Linked DNA regions of Homo sapiens: regions 1 and 2 are each linked to region 3. Evidence: promoter capture Hi-C in 16 types of primary human blood cells and fetal thymus (Javierre and others, 2016). All regions are on one chromosome and are shown on one strand. The core of a region is centred on a gene start or on the middle of the fragment in contact, and the rest is flanking DNA. Distances in the headings are between cores, read along the strand shown. Region 1 holds the start of SNHG21 (small nucleolar RNA host gene 21). Region 2 has its middle 37 kb from the start of WHAMM. Region 3 holds the start of TM6SF1 (transmembrane 6 superfamily member 1).

Region 1 (4,323 bases), core at 1,157-3,656, 360 kb after region 3:
TGCATAAAGTAGTTCTTAAAAGTTGGTTTCTGTGGGGGCTTCTGAAAGCCCTTCTGGGGGTTAGTGAAGTCAAAACTATTTTCATATGAACAAAAGCTCTTTGGAGTCTTCAATAACTGTTAAGTGGCTCTTGAGACCAACAAGTTTGAAAATTGTTTATATAGGAGCCAGGCACGGTGGCTCACACCTGTAATCCCAGCACTTTGGGAGGCCAAGGTGGGAGGATCACCTGAGGTCAGGAGTTCGAGATCAGCCTGGCCAACATGGTGAGACCCCTGTCTCTACTAAAAATACAAAAATTAGCCGAGCATGGTGGCATGGACCTGTAATCACAGCTACTCGGGAGGCTGAGGCAGGAAAATCGCTTGAACCCAGGAGAGGGAGGCTATTCATGGCTTCCCCACAATGAACATCCGGTTAAATGAGCTCCTCAGTACTTCAGATACCCCCTATGTGATGTGAACAGTTTTTCAGTATTTGCTAATGTATGGTTTTCTGGGCCTCAGGCTCACTTACTTTCTTCACAGGCTTGCCACTTTCCTACAACACATTTCCATTTCATAACATGAGAGAGATGACTGCAATAATGCACAAGACACTTAAGCCACACAAGCACCAAATGTAAGATTACTTAAAACAGCTGAGGTTTGACTGCAGTGCACTCTACAGAATCAGTTTTCTAGGGTGAGCACATAGCTTGCTCAGTGAACCCCAGGCCGCTCTGTGTAAATGTATGTAACAGGCAATGAAAGTTCCTTCTTCACATATTGTTACTACACATCTGTTGCTAAAAGGGAAATGACAGAGCGACGTGACAGACTCATCTCCATCTACAAACTATGGAAGATGTAGATGACTGACACAGTTCTAACTCCTAACACACACGGATTTTGCCTTTCATGGATTTATACTGTATGTAGATGTACATTACCACCCTTTTCACTCCTCCTTGCAACTCCCCGTCAACCTCGTAAAAAAAGACGAATTGTCTAGCAATGCAAAGAAACAGTATGGTGTACAACAAATAATTCCGGGCTAAAAATGAAGAAATCGCGCTTTCACTCTCGGCTCTGTTATTAACAAGCTGTATAACTTTCGGCCTATCTCCCCCATCATGCTTCGGTTTAAGCTAAAAGGAGGGAGATGACCAAGATGGCTTTGCTCTGCTTCTGACACCAAATGACCGCCAGCAGATTCAGGAAGCTTAAGAATTACCAACTCCGTGTGTGTGTGTTCTAAAATTAATGCAACAGGTGTTGCTGCCTCCAGCAGGCGTCACCGATTCAGAATGTCTGGGTTCTCGCAGGCCCTTATGGGACACAGAACAGCACAACCTATGTGAAAACTGTAAACTTTAGTCTGGTGAGTGCATACTTCTCCCTTCCACATTTATACTAACCTCAGCTCCGTGGGCTACGAAGCTCGTTCTTCAAATGAGGTGGAGAAATGTAAGCGCGATGAATGAGGCCCAAGTCGCTGGTGGCGCTGAACCCCCAAAAGATACACACCGCGACAGATGCAACGACCCCTCACCTCTACTCCCGTTCCCAGCCGCATCCTCTGAAACCTGATACGCCTGCCTGCCTACCAGGACGCTGCTGTCACTGGCTCTGCTCGGTGGCCAGAGACAGTACTCACTCCATGCGGCCACCCCTCCAACGTCCCACCTTCCTAGTAAATCCACTCTCTTTCCGGCGGAAAAGCCCTTCTCGTTTCCTGCGCGTGAGAGGAAGTCCCGCCCCACGCACCAGCGTGACATTACTGGAAGCGCCGAGGAGCTTCGCGCAGGCTCAGAATCGCTCAGCTGGTTGACGTTATCCAGGAGAATCGCGTTGGACTCAGGGAAGACCTGCACAGGATCCGGTTGTTGCTGGGTCCGAGGGCTGTAGGGAGTGGAGAAAGGGCCGGGAATCGTTAAGCGGGGTCTGGGAGAACGACTTGCAGATTCACATTTCCTCCGCCCGCGGATGTCCTCCGGGGAATTGAGGCTTCCTTCCTCAGCTGCCCTTGTTTCTCTCTTTGCTCCCGCTGCCCCTTGTTCTATTTCGTTTCTTACTATTTATGTAGTCTCATTGCTTGCGGTTATAATGGCCACCACTTTATTGAGCATTCACTGTACAAGCATCTCGCAGCAGGCGCTCATAAGCGTCTGGCAATTCTTGGCCACTGCTGGAAGCCCAATCATTCTTTTACCATGGAAGGGATTTGAGAGCCTACATAATCCTGTACTCTAATAGCCACATGGTACTCTTGGGGCTAGGAAGATAAAGTAGAAATTGAAATTGCTGTTGTATTAGTTTTCTGAAGCTGCCATAACCAAGTACCTCACACTGGATAGCTTAAAACAACAGATATATTTTCTCGCTTTCTGGAGTCTGGAAGTCAGAAATCAAGATGTCAGTGGGGTCTTGCTTCTTCTGAGACTCTGGATAGAATCCTTCCTGCCTCTTCCTAGCTTCTAGTGGGAGCCAGCAATCATTGGTGTACTTTCGCTTGTAGCTGCATTACTCCATTCTCTTCCTCTGTTATCAAATGGTATACTCCCTGTGTGTCTCTGTCTCTGTGTGTTTTATAAGGACACCAGTCCTGTTAGGTAAAAGGCTCACCTTACTCCAGTATGACCTGATCATGACTAATCACATCTGCAATGACACTCTTTCCAAATAAGGTCACATTTTGAGGTTCCAGGAAGGACATGAATTTTGGGGGCGACACTAACCAACCCAGTACAGCTGTTAAAGTTCTCAAGAAGTAGACAAACGAAGAGTTGACAAATAAATGTAGTACAAGTGGATTCAAATTTAGTTCAGTTTTATCTGAGTGTTCATAGACATTCGGAGTATCCCTTTAAAGGATGGGTAGGGGCCGGGCGTGGTGGCTCACGCCTGTAGTCCCAGCCCCTTGGGAGGCCGAGGTGGGCGGATCAGCTGAGGTCAGGAGTTTGAGCCCAGCCTGGCCAACATGGCGAGACTCCGCCTCTACTAAAAATACAAAAATTAGCCGGGCGTGGTGACAGGTGCCTGTAGTTCCAGCTACTTGGGAGGCTGAGGCAGGAGAATCGCTTGATCACAGGAGGTGGAGGTTGCAGTGAGCTGAGATGGCACCGTTGCACTCCAACCTGGGTGACGAGCGAAAATCCATCTCAAAAAAAAAAAAAATTAGTTACGAAAGATTCTCTCTACTTCTATCTTTTGAAAGAGACTATAGATAATTTGCATAATTTCTTCCTTAAATGTTTCATAGAATTCACCAGTTAGACCATCTGGACCTGGTACTTTCTGTTTCTGAAAGTTATCAATTATTGATTCCATTTAAAAAATAGATATAGGCCTATTCAGATTGTTTCTTCTTGTGTGAGTTTTGCCAGATCGTATCTTTCAAGAAATTGGTCCATTTCATTTAGGCTATCAAATTTATGAGCGTAGAGTTTTTTTCTTGTTTTTGTTTTTGGGCATAGAGTTTTTATCACCCTTTTAATCTTCATGGGATCTGTAGTGATGTTCCCCTCTTTCATTTCTAATATTAGTAATTTATGCCTTCTCAATTGTTTTTATAGTTAGATTACTAGAAGTGTTTTGCTTTTATTGCTCTTTTTCAAGAACAAGCTTTTTGGTTTCAATGATTTTCTCTATTTTCTGTTTTAAATTTCATTGATTTCTGCTCTAATTTTTATTATTTGTTTTCTTCTACTTACTTTGTATTTAATTAACTCTTCTTTTTCTGTTTTCCTAAGGTGAAAGCTAAAATTGATTTTAGATCTTTCATTTTTTCTAATATATGCATTCAATGGTGTTAATTTCCCTCTAATCACTGTTTTAACTGCTTCCCACAAATTTTGATTATATTTTCACTTTCATTTAATTCAAAATATTTTTAAATTTCTCTTGAAATTTCTTCTTTGGCTCATATGTAAATTAGAAGTATATTGTTTAATCTCCAAATATTTTGGGATTTCTAGGTTATTTTTCCATTATTGATTTCTAGTTAAATTCCATTGTTGTCTGAGAGCAGGCATTGTATAATTTCTATTCTCCTAAGTGGGTTAAAGTGTATTTTATGGCCCAAAATGTAGTCTCTCCTAGTGAATGTTCCCTATGAGCTTAAGAAAAATGTGTATTTTGCTGTTGTTAAATGAAGTCGTCTACAGATGTCAATATTATTCAGTTGATTGATGGTGTTGTTGAGTTCAACTGTGTCTTTACTGATTTTCTTTGTGCTGGATCTGTTTATTTCTGATAGCAATATGTTGAAATCTCCAACTATGACAATGGATTCATCTGTTTTTCTTTGCAGTTCTATCAGTTTTTACCTCACATATTTTGA
Region 2 (4,264 bases), core at 1,439-3,938, 260 kb after region 3:
AGTGTTTTAATCAAACCCCACAGCAGAGCTGGGACCCTGTCGAATGATGCACCATCTTTGCTGTGCTGGGTAGTTAACAGACATGAATACCACTGTCTGGTCAAACCCAAGCTGGGGCTCGGGTGGCCCTGGGGCAGGGAGGGAGAAGGGGAAGCAGCAGGAGCTGGTCTCAGGCCCCTGGAGCCCATCCGTGATGCTCTGCCCCTGGGGCTCTCCAGACCCTCGAATCACCTTCTCCCCTAGGAATGGTGACCCAGGGATTCCAGGTATAGGGGCTGCCCAGGGCTTGGTACCTAGGGTAGGATTGTCTTATGGGTCTGGACAGCTGGGAAGAAATCACAGGCATTTCGGGGGGAGAGAGCAGCTCAGCTGACAAGCCTTGGCCCTCATGACAGAGGTGTTCCACCCAGCTCTGCGTCCTGCCTTTTTCAGTTTCTCCTAGGGAAGGGACTGCAGCCATAAACCTCTCCTCTCTCACAGAGCTGCTCAGTGGGGCCAGCGGGCCTGTGGGTGCTGTTGGCATCCTGCCCTGGGAGATTGCCCGTGTGTGGCAATAATGGCTTGAATCCCTGGCCCCACACATCTCTAAATGCCTTGAGCAGGGGGGAGGCTTTGGTGCCCCCTCACCCCTTTGAGAACCACCTAAGAGGACTACTCCTTCTAGAAACCTTCTCCCATGGACGTGGTTAGACTTTCTCCCTGCTGAATTTGGATTAATGAGCAAACAACCCGAGGAAGGAGGGAGATGGGGTCCGAACCCAGGTGCCCTGGGCCCCAAGGTGAACACGAGTCCTCCTGCTCTCCTTCCCTTCCCCTCACGGAGACGCCTCTCTGAGCTGGGGAGTCTTGTTTGGGATGTGGATGGAAGGGAAGGCTGGGCATCTGGAGCACCAAGGCACTTTTAGAGGAGCTCCCGCAAGGTGAGTGGGGGCTTTGGTTGAGTACATAGGGCTTTTGGCAGACAGGAAGTGGAAAGCGTGGCCAGCCATCTTTGTGATTCGGGGTAGTCTGCTGCTGGCCCTTCCCTTTCCCCAGAGCTCCAGACGGCTCTCAGGACAGTTGGTAGCAGCTCCCTCCTGGCTGCACCAGGAGACCAGAGAGCCGAGCTGGCTATGAGTCAGCCCCGTGGCCCAGCAGCGGGATAAGGGGATTCTCAAGCCAGCCTGGTCTGCCCAGCAGCAGGCTGGGTGTGTGGCTGCCTGGGAGCAGTGGACACTGGGTTCCAAACACCTTCCGCTGGGGTCTTCAGATGACCTCTGCCTTTATCAGGTGACTTATGAATCTAGAAAGAGCCCGCTTGACTGACAAGAGAATGCTCAGGTGACATGCATAGAATAGTTACTGAAGCCACTTGTACATTCTGATAGCAGTGACTTTAGAAAACTCCAGAAGTGGAGGTGTAGAAAATGTTGGAAGAGCCATTTCCACAGTGGGCTGCTGTGCAGTTGAGACCCATGATCCCAGTTCACCAAGCACTGAAGAGTGTGGTGAGCATCCTGTGGGCAGCAGGTGAGGAACTTGGATTCCTCCTGCTGTGTGTCCAGCTCTACAGCTGTTGCAACCCTGGAGCTAAGAGTAGTAAGGACTCCCTTAAAGGGAAAGGTAAGTTGGGCTTGGCCGTGAAAGCACAACAGCTTTTACAAAAGCACTGAACTTTCCATTCCTTCTGCTTTTCTCTGAAGATCTCAGTGTCTTTTCATTTACTTTCTTTTAAAATAGTGGCCCTGGAGCAACCTGGACGGTGTTCCCTTGAGCTGGTGTGACGTGCCCTCGTTTATTCTGACATCCAGCCCAGTCTCAGTACTGTTGTCATAACCTTACGCCAGACTCAGGCAGAATGTAAGCCATTCACTCGTGAGCATCGCAGCCGCTTGTGCTGCCTGGAAGCTGCAGGGCCAGGACTGCATTTTCAGTTTGCAATTGAGGTCTCCTGATTTTGGTGTTTCCAAGACTGGCTGCTATACCTTGATAAGCTTTCCTTCTGCCTCCATGAAACCTGGTGTCTAAAAAAGATCAACTAAAACTTGGAACCCTTTAACCAAGAGGACCTTTAAAAATAACCTTTCATTCCAGTCAAGACCCAGCTGGATGCATTTTAAAGTTGGGAGTGGCGAGGAAGCCTTCCTAGTGCCGCCCGGGGAATGTAAAACCACCAGAGCAACAGGTTGGGACAGTATGGTCAGGCCTTGGAGGGAAAGAGAACCAGTATCCACACAAGACCTCGAACTTGTGTGGCCCCTCAGTTTCATCTCTCCTGCCTGCCATCACATTAGACTTTAATTGGGTGAGAGAACAGGGCAGAGACTGTCACCTGCATTTTGCAGATGGGAAGTAGAGACAGAGAAAGTGACACGCCCAGGGTCACCCAGCGGTGACCAGCAGCGTGGACTCTGCATCCAGGTCTCCTGGACCTTGATGCAGTATCTTTTGAGACATGCCACTCTAGTCCCTTTGGTGACCCGTGGGTGCCAAGAGAAAATAATTCTTATATCCTGATAAGAGCATATTACAATTATATTATTTCAATATGTGTCCACAGCAAAGGACAGTTTACAAAAATGTGAATCCGAATGACATTTAGGAATGTTTGTTATAAATGATAAGTTCCACTTTGGAATGATTCTGGTTTTGCAGGAATCTTTCCAAGAAAGTTGGTTAAAATGATGTCTCTGCCTGTGAGGCCAGTTCTATGGAAAACAAACACACCCTGAGTTCTTTATTGATGGCTTTAGTGGAGGCAGAGCAGTATGTTCAAAACAAGTGGGAGGCCCTGAGATCGCAGGAATGGAAACAGAGTTCTGGCTGGGGGTGGCCTGTCCACTGCCCGCCCCTTCCTGGAGATGCACTCCTTTCTGGCTTTCTGGGGAGGGAGCAGCCTTGCTCAGTGGTGGGAGCAGCTTGAACGGGACCTGATCAACACCCAGGAAGACTGTGCACAGAGGGCAGTTGGTCTCCAGCCTGCAGGCTCCATGAGCACAGCCTTGATGGTGGTGGGCAGGCGCCTGCCTGCTGTGGACTACATTTGATGCAAAACATCAAGTAAAGGGTGGAGCGTAATACAGTGAATATGCCTCCCAGAAACATCATGCTCTGCCTATTTTAACAGGGCTCTTTTTCTTTAGAAAAGTCTCCTTCTCTATAGAAACCAGGGACAATTTTGGATGAGAGCCAACCACAGGACGCGCTGGGGACGTTATGGTGGGACCTCACATGTGGCCAGGTGCACCTTTGGGAAGAAGGCAGACGTGATGTGACTTAGCACAGGCACTCAAAAGAGGCAGCCACTGGTCTTTGCTAATATCCAGAAGTGGATTGTTTGTTCCATTCATCCTTCTAGAAGCTAAATTCTTTCATTGCCTTGAGACATCACTAGATTTTGAAGCACTTGCAAACTAGAAGCTTGCAAGATCAATGTCCATGTATATTTTTAAAGATATGCATGCTTTAAAAGGACCCTAATTTCTGAGTACATGGCTTCCCCAAAGAAACAGTATATATTCTGGAGATGATGGGGGTTTTGGCATGGAGAGGGACTCCTGTCTAGTCTAGAAAATGTTACTTACATGCCTCTTCCATGTACCGATCTCAAGAATATGGGTTTTCTAGTTGGCTTTAAACACTACCCAGGCAGGAAGGTGGCTTTGGTAAGAATTTTGAGCTGGATGAAATGTTCTAGTGAACTTACGACTGTGTATGTGCGCACGCGTGTGTGTGTGTGTGTGTGTGTGTGTGTGTGTGTGTGTGTGTGAAGAAACAGCAAAAGGGGAAGTGGGAGAAACAGTAAGGAAGCGTTTTTAATTAAAAATATGTATACCTAAGAGGAGACTTTATTTTCTATTTCTGGTGGTGGTGATCTATGTTCTGGAATCCATTTACCAGAAGTTTGTGGATCTTTTGTTTGAAGTGGAATTGTTCAGTGCCCTACTCTCTTTGACGGTGCAGAGCCTTGCGGCAAAGTGTTCTCCTGGGCCCTAGAGACCCCCAGGGCACCTGGCAGGAGCCCGTAAACCACGGCAGAGTCCCAAGTGGTGCATGTTTTGGCGAGTGATGGGCAGGACTGATGATTCACAGCTGTGAGGCTGTGCTATTGTTTTTACCCTCTTGTACTGCTTTTAATAGGAAGTCCCGACTTTACGTCAGTTGTGAGAGCAGCGTCTTATGATGTGACAGGCAAGAAGACATTCCTTGCATCAAATATAAGAGTTTAATGAGAAGAGTGGAGTGGATAAGTGAACTCTCCCAAGAGTACTGTTTTTTGTTTCCC
Region 3 (4,590 bases), core at 490-2,989:
AAAACCTAGGGCTCATCCTCAAATCCTCTGCTGCCATGCAACCCTCTTCAGTAAGCCCCATCTGTTCACCTTCCAAAATACCTACTACGCCCATCCAATTCCTTCCCCTGCACTGCTCCATTTTCCTGCCCGACAGGCTCCATTCCCAGATCTTCCCATAGCTCAAGTGTTACCTCCTCCTAGAAGCCTTCCCTGGCCACCAGCCCCCTCCCCAGTCACCCTATTTTATTATCTTCATAGCATGTCACTATCGATGTATTAATGTTTGTTGATGTCTATCTCATTACCTGCCTCCACAGCCTCTTCTGGCTTGTTCATAGCTATGTCACCAACACTTGGAACAGTGCCAAACACACAGTAGGCACTCAGTATATCTTCACTGAACTACCCGTAATGCCATTTTTTGGAGCACAGGGTCCCCCATGCACTATATTGACAGGCATGTAATATTCGGTGGCCCAGAGCAGCTGCCTCCAGGGGATGCCTCCAGAGACTGGGCCAGACCAAGGGTAGACACTGCTGGTGCCTGGTGAGCACTCAGTGTGGGTGCTGCCTGTATCAGGCGGCCAGGCAGCTGGAGAGGAGGAAGTTACCACCCTATGTACAGACACTCCACGGCCTGACCAGCTGAAGGGGGTTTGCAGCCTACAGACTGATGCAATTTCCTTAGCACCAACAGCTGAGAGACATAGCAGGTTACTTCCTCCTCCCTCCAGACAGCAACCAACATCAGCAGGAACAGAGGCTGGCGCCTGTCCCAACACCCGGCGACCCTCAGGCCTTCAGCTGCCGGCTGCAGGTTAGTCCGTGATCCCTGCAGTGGAGTGGGAGGCAGGGCTTCGAACCCAAGCCCTGTCCCCCTCCATCAGCCCCACCCATTTCCTTCACATTGAAGTGTTCTGCCTCTGCTGCCTGTCCCCATCCTACCCCAGCGCAGGCACTGGGAAGCACTTCTCCATTCACAACGCCCCTTCACAAAGAGGTCTCGGTGGAACCTTACAATAGGACGCACACAAAGTCCACTTGACCGGAAAACCGAGGCCAGACCACACCGTCAGTGCCAAACACCGTCAGGCCAGACACCGTCAGTGCCAAAGCCAGGCCTAGAACCCACGTCTCTGCCTGTTGGTTCCGGGCTATTTCTGCTAGTCATTCACAACAGTTTCTAAAATTAATAAGAAATGATAAGTATGCGAAAGTCCATACATGGAAACGTTCCCGTGAGATGCAAAAAGAACAAGGCACAAACGAGCTGACACGGCCAGGTTCGTAGTGTCCGTGTTTGTTCCGCTCCCCACCGGCCCCTGGGCCCCTCCAGGGCAGGGGCATGGCCGTATTGACGCCTGTGACCCCGGGCACCTGGCGCGGTGCTGGCACCAACATCCCGAAATGCGCCAGCCTGGGCACCTCAGGGCCCGGCTCCAAGACCCGGCCCGTGCGACCCCTGGGGCGCCCCCCTAGTCTGGCCAGGCGCGGGGAGCCCCTGCGGCCACGAACCTCTGTCCCGCGGCGGACGGTCCCAGCCCCCTCGGAAAAGTTGCGAGGCTCCCGTCGCGGCGAGCCAACTCCCGCCGCCCCTCGGCGCGACCCCCGCCGCGCCGGCTCACTCACTCATGCTGGGCCGCCAGGTGGTTGAAGACATAGGTGACCGGGATGGCCGAGAGGGACAGCACGAAGACCCCGGTGGCCGCAGAGGCACTCATCGCAGCCGCCGCGCCGCTCGCCCTTCACCGCATCCCGCTGGGCGCCCCGCCCCAGCTTCCGGCGGCGCCCGCGCCCCCTTGGCGCTTGCCCTTCGAGGCGCCTCAGCCGCGCCCCCCGCGTGGCGCCCTCAGCGGCGTCCCCTCAGCGGTGTCTCCTCCGCGCGCCCTCCCAGCCCGCAGCCGTCCCCCGCGCCTGGCCCCGTCGCCCCAAGTGCGCAGGGCCGCGGTGCAGTCCCGGGAGGCGTCCTTGCAGTGCTCCTGCCAGGGGCGCCACGGCTCAGCGGCAAGCGCCCGGCGGCGCCGAGGGGCGGCGACACCCCCGCGCAGGGACAGGTGCCCCTGGCGGCGCGCGCTCCGAGGGAGGGCCCGGGGCACGGCCGGGAACCGGTCATCGAAGAGCTGGAGAGGCGCGGGGCTGAGCTGCGGTCCGGGAAAGGTGGAACCAGATCCGAGGGTGTCAGAGGAGGAAGGGCCCGCGGGATCGTCTATGGGGGAGCCCACGGCCCAGAAGTGGGAAAGGACAAAATGCCCCTGAAACCTCGGAACCTCTCCGCTCCAGTAGCCATCGGCGGGCTGCTGCACGGAGCCGGCATCCGGTTTTTAAACCTGGCTCTCCAGTCACCAGCTGTTGACTTTGGTCAAATTACTTAACCTCTCTGTCTTTTCCCTTATCTGGGAAATGGGGATAACACACTTCATAGTGTGACTGTGGGGTTAACTGAGTTCATACCTACGAAGCGCGTTATCCTGTGCTGCTCACTACACCACCTCCTGCGATTCTTTTTTTTTTTTTTTCTTTAATTGAAATGGACATAAATGCTGAGACTCTAAGAGACTAGAGCGCCATTCATTGCTATTCCAGGAAGCATTCCTGGAGGCCAGGTGCCCACCAGCCAGCCTGCATTGGGCCCTGCAGGGTACAAAGACTGGAAGATAAGCCTCTTCCTCTGAATGATAGATGCCTACGGGTATGGAAAATATTGTGTGTCAAGTGTTGTGGCTATCTGAAGGGCAGTGAGTTCCAGGAGAACAGCTCAAGCAACTGAGGGAGGTACCGGCATGTACTTACTGTCTTTACAACTTCCAGGGAATTTAAGAGACCATTTATGTGTTTTTGCTGTTGCCATTTGAGGGGTTTATTTTATTTATTTATTTATTTATTTATTTATTATTTTTATTTTTTTTTTTTTTTGAGACAGAGTCTCGCTCTGTCACCCAGGCTGGAGTGCAGTGGTGCAATCTTGGCTCACTGCAAGCTCCACCTCCCGGGGTTCACGCCATTCTGCCTCAGCCTCCAGAGTAGCTGGGACTACAGGTGCCCGCCACCGCGCCGGGCTAATTTTTTGTATTTTTAGTAGAGACGGGGTTTCACCGTGGTCTTGATCTCCTGACCTCGTGATCCGCCCGCCTCGGCCTCCCAAAGTGCTGGGATTACAGGCGTGAGCCACCGCGCCCAGCCTATTTTTATTTTTATTTTTTTAAGACAGGGTCTCACTCTGCAAACCAGGCTAGAGGCAGTGGAGAGATGAGGGCTCACTGCAGTCCCCACTTTCCCACGCCAAGCCATCCTCCCAGCTTAGCCTCCTTAGCTCCTGGGACTACAGTCTCGCACCACTTCTTTGTAGAGGCAGGGTCTCACTATGTTGCCCAAGCTGGTCTCAAACTCCTGGGCTCAAGTGATCCTCCCTCCTCGGCCTCCCAAAGTGCTGGGATTACAGGTGTGAGCCACCGCACCTAGCCTCTAAAAGACCATTTGGCTCATTTTAGACATGAGGAAAATGAGCTACGAGGAGGTATGGCCTGCTCCAGGGCCACTCCACTTTTCAAATGCCAGTTCTCCTAATCCTTCATCCTAGTTCTTCTTGAAGGCTTCTCCAGCTCTGAGTGCATAACGTTTAAGCCTTGGCCCACACTGTGACATATCCAAAGTTTCTCCAAGAGGTGTCCTCACCTGTCACCTGCACATCACCCTCTTCCACCCCTAACCTTCACCACTCTCCTTAAACTCCTACTTCCTCCCTGACAAGAGACACTTCCTCCTATACCTCTGAGCTCCCAGCCAGGCTCCCAAGCCAGCCCATCCCTTCCATCAACACCCAACCTTGTTGCATCAGTCTCAGAGCTGCTCCCTCAGAGCCCACAAGGGACCCAAGTGACATGGCAAAGTTTCAAGGTATTGTGATATACATATTGGGAATTACATGATTTTTTTGTTGACAACAGTTTCTCTTTTTTTTTTTTTTTTTTTTTTTTTTTTTTTTTTTTTTTTGAGATGGAGTCTCGCTCTGTCACCCAGGCTGGAGTGCAGTGGCGGGATCTCGGCTCACTGCAAGCTCCGCCTCCCGGGTTCACGCCATTCTCCTGCCTCAGCCTCCCAAGTAGCTGGGACTACAGGCGCCCGCCACTACGCCCGGCTAATTTTTTGTATTTTTAGTAGAGACGGGGTTTCACCGTTTTAGCCGGGATGGTCTCGATCTCCTGACCTCGTGATCCGCCCGCCTCGGCCTCCCAAAGTGCTGGGATTACAGGCGTGAGCCACCGCGCCCGGCCAGTTTCTCTCTTAATGCTGAAAATATGAGTGGTCAGAATGCTTGTAGTTGGGAAGAGTTTTTCGCAGGAACCTTCCCTGGCTTTTGGGATAAGTGAACCCCTCTGGCTGCCCTGGATCCTTCCGCTCAACCTAGACACAGGCTCAAGTAGCTTCCAATTTAGAAATCTGCTCCCTGAACCTGAGTGTCCTGGGTTTTTTTTGTTTGTTTGTTTTTTGTTTGTTTGTTTGTTTTTGAGACAAAGTCTCGCTCTTTCACTCAGGCTGGAGTGAAGTGGCACAATCTCAGCTCACTGCAACCTCTGCCCTGCCCCCCGCCGGGTTCAAGCAATTCTGCCT

The links. Contacts are between HindIII fragments. The CHiCAGO score rates a contact against its expected background, and 5 or more counts as called.
Region 1: a contact is called between a fragment that was not itself captured here and the fragment with the promoter of TM6SF1 in region 3, in 1 of 17 cell types (megakaryocytes). The highest score is 5.8, in megakaryocytes.
Region 2: a contact is called between a fragment that was not itself captured here and the fragment with the promoter of TM6SF1 in region 3, in 3 of 17 cell types (M0 macrophages, M1 macrophages and M2 macrophages). The highest score is 8.8, in M0 macrophages.

Annotation. Positions count from the first base shown.
Region 1 is chr15:82,747,925-82,752,247 of GRCh38, reverse strand. SNHG21 (small nucleolar RNA host gene 21) reads right to left here and starts at 1,684. Exons shown (of 3, transcript NR_110098.1): 1 at 1,400-1,684. RefSeq lists enhancers at 1,511-1,580, 1,871-2,000. The HindIII fragment of the contact is 2,402 bases long and covers 1,206-3,607 here.
Region 2 is chr15:82,844,703-82,848,966 of GRCh38, reverse strand. It overlaps a transcript of HOMER2 not described here. Among named protein-coding and RNA genes, the nearest start is that of WHAMM, 37 kb to the right of the region's middle. The HindIII fragment of the contact is 1,426 bases long and covers 1,976-3,401 here.
Region 3 is chr15:83,104,794-83,109,383 of GRCh38, reverse strand. It overlaps TM6SF1 (transmembrane 6 superfamily member 1), which reads right to left and starts at 1,739. Exons shown (of 10, transcript NM_023003.5): 1 at 1,612-1,739. The coding sequence starts at 1,703. RefSeq lists silencers at 1,682-1,801, 1,832-2,111. The HindIII fragment of the contact is 11,695 bases long and covers 1-4,590 here.